Regions from separate parts of the Homo sapiens genome. Here all the other regions are linked to region 3. Evidence: promoter capture Hi-C in 16 types of primary human blood cells and fetal thymus (Javierre and others, 2016). All regions are on one chromosome and are shown on one strand. The core of a region is centred on a gene start or on the middle of the fragment in contact, and the rest is flanking DNA. Distances in the headings are between cores, read along the strand shown. Region 1 overlaps NBDY (negative regulator of P-body association). Region 2 overlaps NBDY (negative regulator of P-body association). Region 3 holds the start of SPIN2B (spindlin family member 2B).

Evidence for each region. Contacts are between HindIII fragments. The CHiCAGO score rates a contact against its expected background, and 5 or more counts as called.
Region 1: a fragment that was not itself captured here is called in contact with the fragment with the promoter of SPIN2B in region 3 in 5 of 17 cell types (M0 macrophages, fetal thymus, non-activated CD4 T cells and 2 more); the score reaches 9.4 in M0 macrophages.
Region 2: a fragment that was not itself captured here is called in contact with the fragment with the promoter of SPIN2B in region 3 in 2 of 17 cell types (total CD8 T cells and non-activated CD4 T cells); the score reaches 5.6 in total CD8 T cells.

The regions. Positions count from the first base shown.
Region 1 is chrX:56,787,597-56,790,812 of GRCh38, reverse strand. The region is part of intron 2 of NBDY (negative regulator of P-body association); the gene reads right to left. Among named protein-coding and RNA genes, the nearest start is that of NBDY, 60 kb to the right of the region's middle. The HindIII fragment of the contact is 4,764 bases long and covers 1-3,216 here.
Region 2 is chrX:56,818,600-56,821,816 of GRCh38, reverse strand. It overlaps NBDY (negative regulator of P-body association), which reads right to left. Exons shown (of 3, transcript NM_001348129.2): 3 at 2,638-3,217. Among named protein-coding and RNA genes, the nearest start is that of NBDY, 91 kb to the right of the region's middle. RefSeq lists a silencer at 1,367-1,661. The HindIII fragment of the contact is 3,504 bases long and covers 44-3,217 here.
Region 3 is chrX:57,119,991-57,123,219 of GRCh38, reverse strand. SPIN2B (spindlin family member 2B) reads left to right here and starts at 1,672. Exons shown (of 2, transcript NM_001006681.2): 1 at 1,672-1,982; 2 at 2,589-3,229. The coding sequence starts at 2,591. It also overlaps a transcript of FAAH2 not described here. RefSeq lists a silencer at 1,385-1,504. The HindIII fragment of the contact is 2,706 bases long and covers 751-3,229 here.

The DNA of each region.
Region 1 (3,216 bases), core at 345-2,844, 330 kb after region 3:
CCTTAAGAGTTGCCTAGACAACCAGATCTGGGAGTGAATGGTGTCTGGGCAGGTGCTTGTTAGTATGCATGGTGAGATGTGTATGTATCTGAGGACCTTTGGAAGCACAGATGAAGACAGGAAAATGTTGAGACGTAATGGGAGTTAAAAGTTAAAAACGAGGACCTCTGAAACTCAGAGTTGCCATGTCACTCCTAAAGACGCAGTCAGATCTTCCTGCATTCTTTTCTTCTCCCATTGTACCTAGGCAGGGCCGGAGGTGCCCCGTGGTGCATGCTACCTACTTATGAGAAAAGAATCTGCATTTGTTGACAAGTGACCAAAAGGGGGTGACTCCTGTTCCATAGTCATGTGGGTCTTCTTCCCAGAATGCCCTGAGAGTAGAGGCCCACACACGAGATTGACACTGCTCTTGTGATGTGAGAGTGGTTCACACACCCCTGAGTGTGGGAATCAATACCCATGGGGTGAATTTTCTGTCCTATGAAGCTCTGCTTGTTCACAGTGTGGTCTACACATCCAGGAAGATTTGTAACAAGCAAAGAAAGAAAACATTTGCAATATTCGAAGAGCTGTGTGTTCCATACTGCTGCCCAGGCATCAAGCAGCATGGGTAGCATATGTAACCTTTAGAGCAACGCGGTCATGGCTTCGCATCCCAAAATGGGCTCTGTATGATGGCCCAAGTGAGGCTTTCTTATGTCTTCCTGGAGACCCTAAAGGGGCAGCATAATTTGTCCTCGACTGTCTCATTCATTTTTCTGGATGAATATCCGGCAAGCACCAGAGTTTAGCTTGAGGACCTCAGAGAGCTCTGTATCAAACAAAGGCACAGACACTCCACCACACCCCCCACCAACACACTCCAGGCTCAACCTCCATTTCGACACGCAGAACAGGAACAAAGATAGGGCCCAGGAGAAGGCAAGCACTGTCTGGGCTCTGGCTACCCATGCACATGGGAAGAATGACCAAGATGCCAAGGCAAATAACTGGTGAACCACCACGTTCCAGTGAGCATGCACGCTCAGTAAGACATGACAAGTGGCTCTCTCTCCAGGAGAGCCACCTGTGAAAAAACCTGGAAAATCCCTCCAACCCCTGGACCCCTATGAGTGCCTGGGCTCCAGAGAGAGAGGTAGCTGAAGGCCTCGAACAGGAGTCAGTCCCATGCAGTCCCATCTCAACAAACATCCGACCCAACTCCCTGCTGCTCCATGGCTCAACAATGTGTGGATGCCTGTTGGACCTGGCTGCTTTCCATCCAAGATTTTGTCCCTTCCCCAAGAGGAAGAGTGCTACCTAGGGACAAGTGTGGTGCATGCCATCATGAGGCCTGGTCTCTTGCTTTGGGGACCTGGGCCAATTCCTAGAGGAATCTGCAGTGGCCTGCATGCAGGCCCACACACTCACACATCCCTCTCCTGTACCCCATCATACTGCCCCCAGTACAACCTACCCCCACCATGACACAGCCCTAAGGGTGGGATTTCATGAGAACAGACTCCTCTGGTTCACTGGGTACCCTGCCCAGAGAAGAATCCAGAGGGAAGGAGGGAGGCAAAGAACCTCCTACTGTTGCAGGTTCCCCCAAAGTGACCACGTAGGTGGGGATCCCTGCTGTAGGTGAGGTGGGTGATCCTTGGCCAGTTTCTTCGTTGTTTCTTTGCTTTTTGTTTTTGGCATTTGTTTTATTCCGTTGGCAGCAAATGGAGAAAGACAAGGCAAGGTGGGGGAAGGAAAAGACGTGACTGCCATTTGCGGAGCCACAGTGCCACCCAGAGGAAGATGTTTCTGAACATGACAACAGGCTGCAGGGACACTCGCCTTCTGCCAGGCACAGAGATCAGTGAAAATGTGCGGGGCTGGGTGGACTCTGCTTAAGCCAGGGTTTCCCCAACTGGGGTTTAGAGCCCTAGAACAAAGAGTGCCTGCCACTGGGACCCCTTGGAGAAGCAGTTACTCTAGAGGCCCTGACACAGGGCAGCCAGGCAGCCCCAAGACGAGTCAGTCCACACAGTGAAGCTGCCCCCCAGCCATTTTGAGATACGCATAAGGGAAGCCACTGGCCACTGACAGCCAGAGAATGAAGTGGTTTACTCTGGTTTCTTCTGTGGGCAGTTACAGCTTGCCCTCCTTGGCTGGGGCCACAGTAAGGCCAGAAGGCCCCTATCTTCCTGGTAAAAAAAAAAAAAAAGGAGCTACGGGGTGCTGAGTGTGGGGCGACTCATGCCCGGCAGTTCCTGGAAACTGCCAGGGGAAGCCATGGTGGGCTGCCCCAACTGCCCTTTCTTACATGCAGCTGTGGAGCCAGGGCACCATCCTGGGAATGAGCCCAGGCCAAGGGCCAGTGAGGAGCTCCTCTCTCATCCTGCTTCAGTCTGGGGGCCCCATGCCACCATCTGTTTTGTGCCCCTGGGCTTTCCCCAGCACTTGTGCCCAGCTCCCTCCCATTTCCAGAAACAGTTTCCACTTGATGGCAGTATGGCTCCACAAATGCCAACTACAACCATAACCTTGCTTCTCTAAGCTGATGGTCTCTGCCTTCTCCCATGTGAATAAAGAGGAAGGAGAAAAAAATAAAAAAGATAAGGAGAAGAGAAAGGAACAAGCCACCTGGTCCCAGGCTGACAACCAAACTCAGGGGACTCTAGCACCAAGGACCAGTAGCCTGGAGACCCTGCGGGAATGCTATGGAGGCAGCCAGCCTTTGCCCTTCCTTTGGTCCTCTCTAGGTTTCATGGCTCCCGCAGGTGCAGAAAGTAAAAGACAAAGAACACATTATCATGGCCTCTGGGAAACCACAGGAGGACTGGGATCATAGGGCTGCAGCTCCAGGACGAGGCGCTGGCCACTCGGCTGTCTTATACAAGGATTTGCCCCCAGACTAGGAGACTTCCCAAGGCCTGGAACTGCAGGTAGAGTTTGCCAACTTGGGATCATAAATGGAGGTCACCAGAATGGGCCACTGGGGCCACCCACTCAACAGGCAGCTACAGGGCCTGAGGCCAGAGTCTCCTCACAGGGGACACTCAACACCTCACTCAAGTCTGACTCTGCTTTCACACAGGCAAGGGTGAGAGGAGGGTGGCACAGGTTGGCTGGGGAAGGCCACCACACACCAGATTCTCATGGCATCACACAAGGACAAGGATCCCAAGGGGACTTTATCTACCCCTACCCCAAAGTGGGGTCCCTTTTTAAGCAGCTTGACCC
Region 2 (3,217 bases), core at 546-3,045, 300 kb after region 3:
AATGGGCCCAGTTTGGGGGTTTGAGGAAGTCCAGTACTAAGCTTTTTCTTCTTCCCCTCATAGATGTGTATCTTTCTCCATGCTGTGCTACTTAGAGTTGGGGGAGGGGTGATGTGCATAATGTAAAACTGTCCTTTTTCCACTCTATTATTTTTTCCCCTTTGGAAATGGAGTCTTGCTCTGTCGCTCAGGCTGGAGTGCGTGGCGCAATCTTGTCTCACTGCAAACTCCGCCTCCCAGATTCAAGCGAATCTCCTGCCTCAGCCTCCCAAGTAGCTGGGATTACAAGTGCCTGCTGCCACATCCGGCTAATTTTTGTATTTTTAGTAGAAACAGGGTTTCATCATGTTGGCCAGGCTGGTCTCAAACTCCTGACCTCAAATGATCTGCCCTTTCTCCACTCTTAAATGCATCTTTCTTTATTTGCTACACCCAGGTGCTGTAATCTCTCACTTGGTTTCTTTAGGCCTTGTAAAGGTAATTTTGCGCATGAATAGTTGTTCAAATGGATACTTCTGCAAGGTTATGAGTGCTGAAGAATTCCATTTTGCCATCTTGCTGCATAGGAATTTAATAAGTTGGGAGAGGCTGGCCAGGCATGGTGGTTCACGCCTGTAATCCCGGCACTTTCGGAGGCCAAGGGGCGGGCGGATCACCTGAGGTCAGGAGTTCGAGACCAGCCTCAACATGGAGAAACCCTGTCTCTACCAAAAATACAAAATTAGCTGGGTGTGGTGGTGCATGCCTGTAATCCCAGCTACTCGGGAGGCTGAGGCAGGAGAATTCCTTGAACCTGGGAGGTGGAGGTTACAGTGAGCCAAGATTGCACTATTGCACTCCAGCCTGGGCAACAAGAGTGAAACTCCGTCTCAAAAAAATAAAATAAAAGTTGGGAGAGGCTGCCTTGGGAGGTGCTAGCCAGACATCTATTGTTTTAAACAACTTGAGATATGCACATATAATACAATCCGTGATTTAAAGTGTACAATTCAATGGTTTTGGATATTTATAGATAAGCATAGATATGTGTAAATATCACTACAGTCAATTCTTATGCATTTTCATTAACCCTGAATAAAATCACACAGTCCTTAGACATCAATTCTCAATCATAACTTAAGGGAAACTCCATCCTTAAGCAAATATTTTTTCTGAACCTATAGACTTGCCTCATGTGGACATTTTATTTATATGAAATTATATAATATATGGTACTGTGTGACTGGCTTTTTTCACATAGCATAATGCTTTTGCTTTTCCCAGACCACCAGGCAAGAATTATTTTCCTTTTTTTTTTTTTTGGCATAATGCTTTCAAGGTTTATTCTGGCAGTATGTATACTTATTTCCTGTATATGACTAAATTAATATTCCATTGTGTGAATATACATTTTGTTTTCCATTCACCAGTTGATGGGCATTTGAGTTGTTTCCACATTTTCCTAGTACAAATATTTCTGCTGTAAACCGTCCTGTACAATTTTTGTTTGAACACCTGTTTTTTAGTTATTTTGGCTATGTATCAGGAGTAAAATTGCTGGGTAGCATGTTATTTCTTTTTTTTTTCTTTTTTTTGAGATGGAGTCTTGCTCTGTCATGCCCAGGCTGGAGTGCAGTGGTGGGATCTCGGCTCACTGCAACCTCTGCCTCCCAGGTTCAAGGGATTCTCCTGCGTCAGCCTCCTGAGTAGCTGGGCTAATTTTTTATATTTTTTAGTAGAGATGGGGTTTCACCATGTTGGTCAGGCTAGTCTCGAATTCCTGACCTCAGGTGATCCATCCACCTCAGCCTCCCAAAGTGCTGGGATTACAGGTGTGAGCCACCACGCCCAGCCATTATTTTTAACTTAGAGAGGAACCACAAAATTGTTTGCCCAGTGGCTGCACATTTATCATTACCAGCAACAATGCCGCATGTTCCTGTTTTCCCACATTCTAACATTTATTATTTTGCTATTTAAAATAATAATAATAATAAGTATCCTACTGGGTATAAATTGCTGTCTCTTTGTGATTTTGATTTGCATTTCCCTGATGACTAATAGTGTTGAGCATCTTCTCATGTGTAATTTGTGATTTGTATGTCTTCTTTACAGAAGAATCTATTCAGATCCTTTCGTTATAAAATTGGTTTATTGTTTGTTTTATTATTTAGCGGTAATTACTGTTTATTTTATTTTATTATTTTGTTTTATTTTTTGAGATGGCGTCTTGCCCTGTTGCTTAGGCTGGAGTGTGCATTGGTGCAATTTTGGCTCACTGCAACCTCTGCCTCCCAGGTTCAAGCTATCCTCCCACCTCAGCCTCCTGAGTAGCTAAGATTACAGGCATACACCACCACACCCTGCTAATTTTTTTTGTGTGTGTATTTTTAGTAAAGATGGGGTTTCATCATGTTGGCCAGGCTGGTGTCAAACTCCTGACCTCAAGTGATCCCCCTGCCTCAGCCTCCCAAAGTGCTGGGATTACAGGATGAGCCACCATGCCTGGTCTTATATATTTTAGATACAAGTCATTTATGAGACATATTATTTGCAAAAATAATCTTGCACTGTGGCTGTCTTTCAAATTTCTTGACTGTGTTCACTGAAGCAAATTTTTTTTCAATTTTAATTATGTCCAGTTTATCTTTTTTTTCCTTTATTAACTTGTGCTTTGGTGTAAGAATTAAAAATCTAATACTTAATTCAAGGTCACAAAAATTTATTCTATATTTCCTCCCAAGAGTTTTATAGTGTAACCCTTATATTTGAGTCTTTGGCCTATTTTGAGTTAATTTTTGTATTTTGCATGAGGTAGGGGTGGAAGTTTTTTGTTTTTTTGTTTTTTTTTTGCATGTAGATACCAAGTTGTCCCAGTACCATTTATTGAAAATAGTTATTTCCCCTTTTGTCTTGCCTCCTTCTCAGAAGTTAATTGGCTGCAAATTAACTTTTGTGAGGGCTTATGTCTGGACTTTGGATTCTATTTCATTGATCAATATTTATATCCTATGCCAGTACCACATAGACTTGTTTATTGTAGCTTTGTAATAAGTTTTAAAATTTGGAAATGTGACTCTTCAAACTTTGTATACTTCAAGATTGTTTTGGCTATTCTGGGTCCATTACATTTTCATATGAACTTTAGAATCAGGTTATAAATTTCTTCAAAGTAGGCAACCTTAATTTTGATAAGGGTTGCATTGAATAGTTTGATTATTTTGAAGAGTGTTGTCAT
Region 3 (3,229 bases), core at 423-2,922:
ACAATGAGAACACATGGACACAGGAAGGGGAACATCACACAATGGGGCCTCTTGTGAGGTGGGGGTAGGGGAGAGGGATAGCATTAGGAGATATACCTAATGTAAATGAGGAGTTAATGGGTGCAGCACACCAACATGGCACACGTATACACATGTAACTAACCTGCACATTGTGCACATGTACCCTAGAACTTAAAATATAATTTAAAAAAATAAAAATGAAAATAAAATAAAAAGCCCTCACTGAAACTATGACATATCTGCAAATTGCTTTCCATAAAAATTGTATAAACTTTCACTTGCATCAGCACTAGATATGAAGCTTTTTCATGATCAATGACATTAAGTAATATTTTAATGTTCTTTCATACTTTGACTGTTGAATCGAGATTATTATTACTTCTATTTTTCCTTGTAGATGTTATTTTATTAAGTGTAGTTGTTCTGTTAACATCCGACTCATCCCCTCATTCAAATACCATAAGTATCTGAATAAGAAAGATACCATTAAGCATTGTTTTGTTTACAGAGTTTTTGGTTGGTTCATTTGCTTTCTGTTCAATTTTATTTTGCTGCTTTTTACCTTTTAATAAATCAAATATTGATACTGGTACAACATTAGTATACAACCTTTCTCAAAATATTTAAATAATTATTTCAACATTCCTTAAAGAATACCCAACGTTTCTCCACTGATTTATAAAACTATAACTTTAATTATTTCTTATAAAGTTATTTTTTTGCAAAGCTTTCTATTCCGATACATAGATCTGATTACTGGTTATTGTGGAAATATTATGTCAAATGCCCAGTACTGGGAGAAAAGCCAAATTATAAATCACTTTAAAATTGAGTTTTACGGACCAAGTGCAAGATATGTAACAGGTGCTCAATAAATATTTGTTGAATGAAAAAATCGATTAGAAAACATCTAATTTCCTGGAAAAATTAATAGACATGAATTGCAGATAAAAAACAAATCCCAGTTTTGCAAAAGTTTAGGAAAAAGGAAAAAAAACTATGAGCATTAATATTTTGCTGTGAGGCCCTCAAAAATGGGAGATGGGACTGCAGTTGATGATTTTCCTCTTAATATTAATTTCCTAAAATGTAGATAGTGTTCACGTTGTACATGCAATTATCTTGCAATAAAGAAAAGGAAAAAAAAATCCCTCGAAAACAAAAACAAAAATGCCAGGAAATATCAGTCAGCAAAAATTAGGTAGAGACTGGGTCAAAATGGCAGACTTACCATAGTGAATTTCTCTGTTCCAACTCCAAATCCTTTCAAAAAGAGGAAAGACATATTTACGTGTAAAGAATAAATCCATAAGGGCATGGGACGGTGCAGGGGCAGGGGTGGGCGCGGGGGTGGGCGCGGGGCGGCAGCAAGGCGAATTCCAAGAAGATGGAAAGCAGGGCAGGCAGACTAAGAAGGTGGAGGTGGGAACCAAGTGGCCCTGAAACGGGTGAGGAAGGGGCCACAGGGTTCCGAGGACGACTGTGGCACGAACTACTCCGGATTTGGAAAGAGGCGGAGTCAGAGCCCATAGCTCCGCCGGGGCTACAGGCTGTGTGGTGGGCGTGGGAGCCTGGTGGAGAGGAGAGCCGGGTGTTTGACAGGAAGAGGAGGCCTCTCTCTGGGCAGGAAGCTGCGCTACGGAAAGAGGGAGGAGACTGCCGCGGCGACAGCAGGGACTGGTGGAATCCCGATGTGGCTGAGGGGCCGCCACCGCCAGCAGGGAGGCGGAGGGCTAGCGAGCCAAGCGGTGGGGACGCCGCTGCCTTCCTCTTTGCCTGTCTCGCCGCCCTCCTAGACACGCTCCTCATCTACGGATCCTACCCTCCCCGCTCTTGCAAGCATTCACTCGGCCGGTCGCCTGCTGACCCTCCTTCGCCACAGGCTCGTAGCGGAGGCAGCAGCGAGGTGTCCGATTTGGGCACGTGAGGCCCGCGATCCCCGGCGGTGGACGCCAGGCAGGGCAAGGCCATTAGTGGGCGCCAGAATGGAGAGGGGGATGGGAAGGAATCCAGCAGGAGACATGGGGTGGAGTTGGGCGCCAGGCAAGGGTGGGGTGGGGGAGTGCGGTGAGCAACATGAAAAGGGGGTAGGAACGGGAGCCAGACAAGGATTTGAAGGTGAGCGCCGGGAAGCAAGGGCGGTGGGTACCAGAGAAGTGGTTAGGGTAGGCAGGGGGTGTTGTGGACAGCAGCTGGGACGCTCAGGGAAGGAGGGCAGTGGGTGCCGGTCAAGGCCTCTTTGCAAGGGGATTGGAAGTGGACGCCAGTGGTAGCAAGGGGTTCCGGGAGGGCAGTGGGCTCTGAGCTAGGAGGAGGTGGCCCAGCCACTTCTGCAGAGTTCCTAACCCCAGACAGCTCTACTGCACCACCCCAGCCCTTCCCCACAGCCCAAAGGAACTTAAGAGGGAGAGCACTGCGGGCATGCAGCCAGGATTTCCAGCATTGCTTCCAGGCTCCTAGGGGAAACTTAGGCACTAGCGCAGACTACATCCAGACATGGCTATAGGGAAAAGTTTGCCTTGTGGCACACTGGGTGTGTCTCTCTATCCTCTCTCCTCCCCCAGCAGGCATGAAGACCCCCAACGCACAGGAAGCCGAAGGGCAACAAACCAGGGCAGCTGCAGGACGGGCCACTGGGTCTGCAAACATGACAAAGAAAAAAGTCTCCCAAAAGAAGCAGAGAGGCCGACCTTCATCCCAGCCCCGCAGGAACATCGTGGGCTGCAGAATTTCTCATGGATGGAAGGAAGGAGATGAGCCCATCACGCAGTGGAAAGGAACCGTTCTGGATCAGGTGCCTATAAATCCCTCTCTTTATCTGGTGAAATATGATGGAATTGACTGTGTCTATGGACTGGAACTTCACAGAGATGAAAGGGTTTTGTCTCTTAAAATTCTTTCTGACAGGGTGGCATCATCTCACATTAGTGATGCCAACCTTGCAAATACCATAATTGGCAAAGCAGTGGAACATATGTTTGAGGGAGAGCATGGTTCTAAGGATGAATGGAGGGGGATGGTCTTAGCTCAAGCACCTATCATGAAAGCCTGGTTTTATATTACCTATGAGAAAGATCCTGTCTTGTACATGTACCAGCTTCTAGATGATTATAAGGAAGGTGACCTCCGCATCATGCCAGAATCCAGTGAGTCTCCTCCAACAGAGAGGGAGCCAGGAGGAGTTGTAGATGGCCTAATAGGTAAGCAT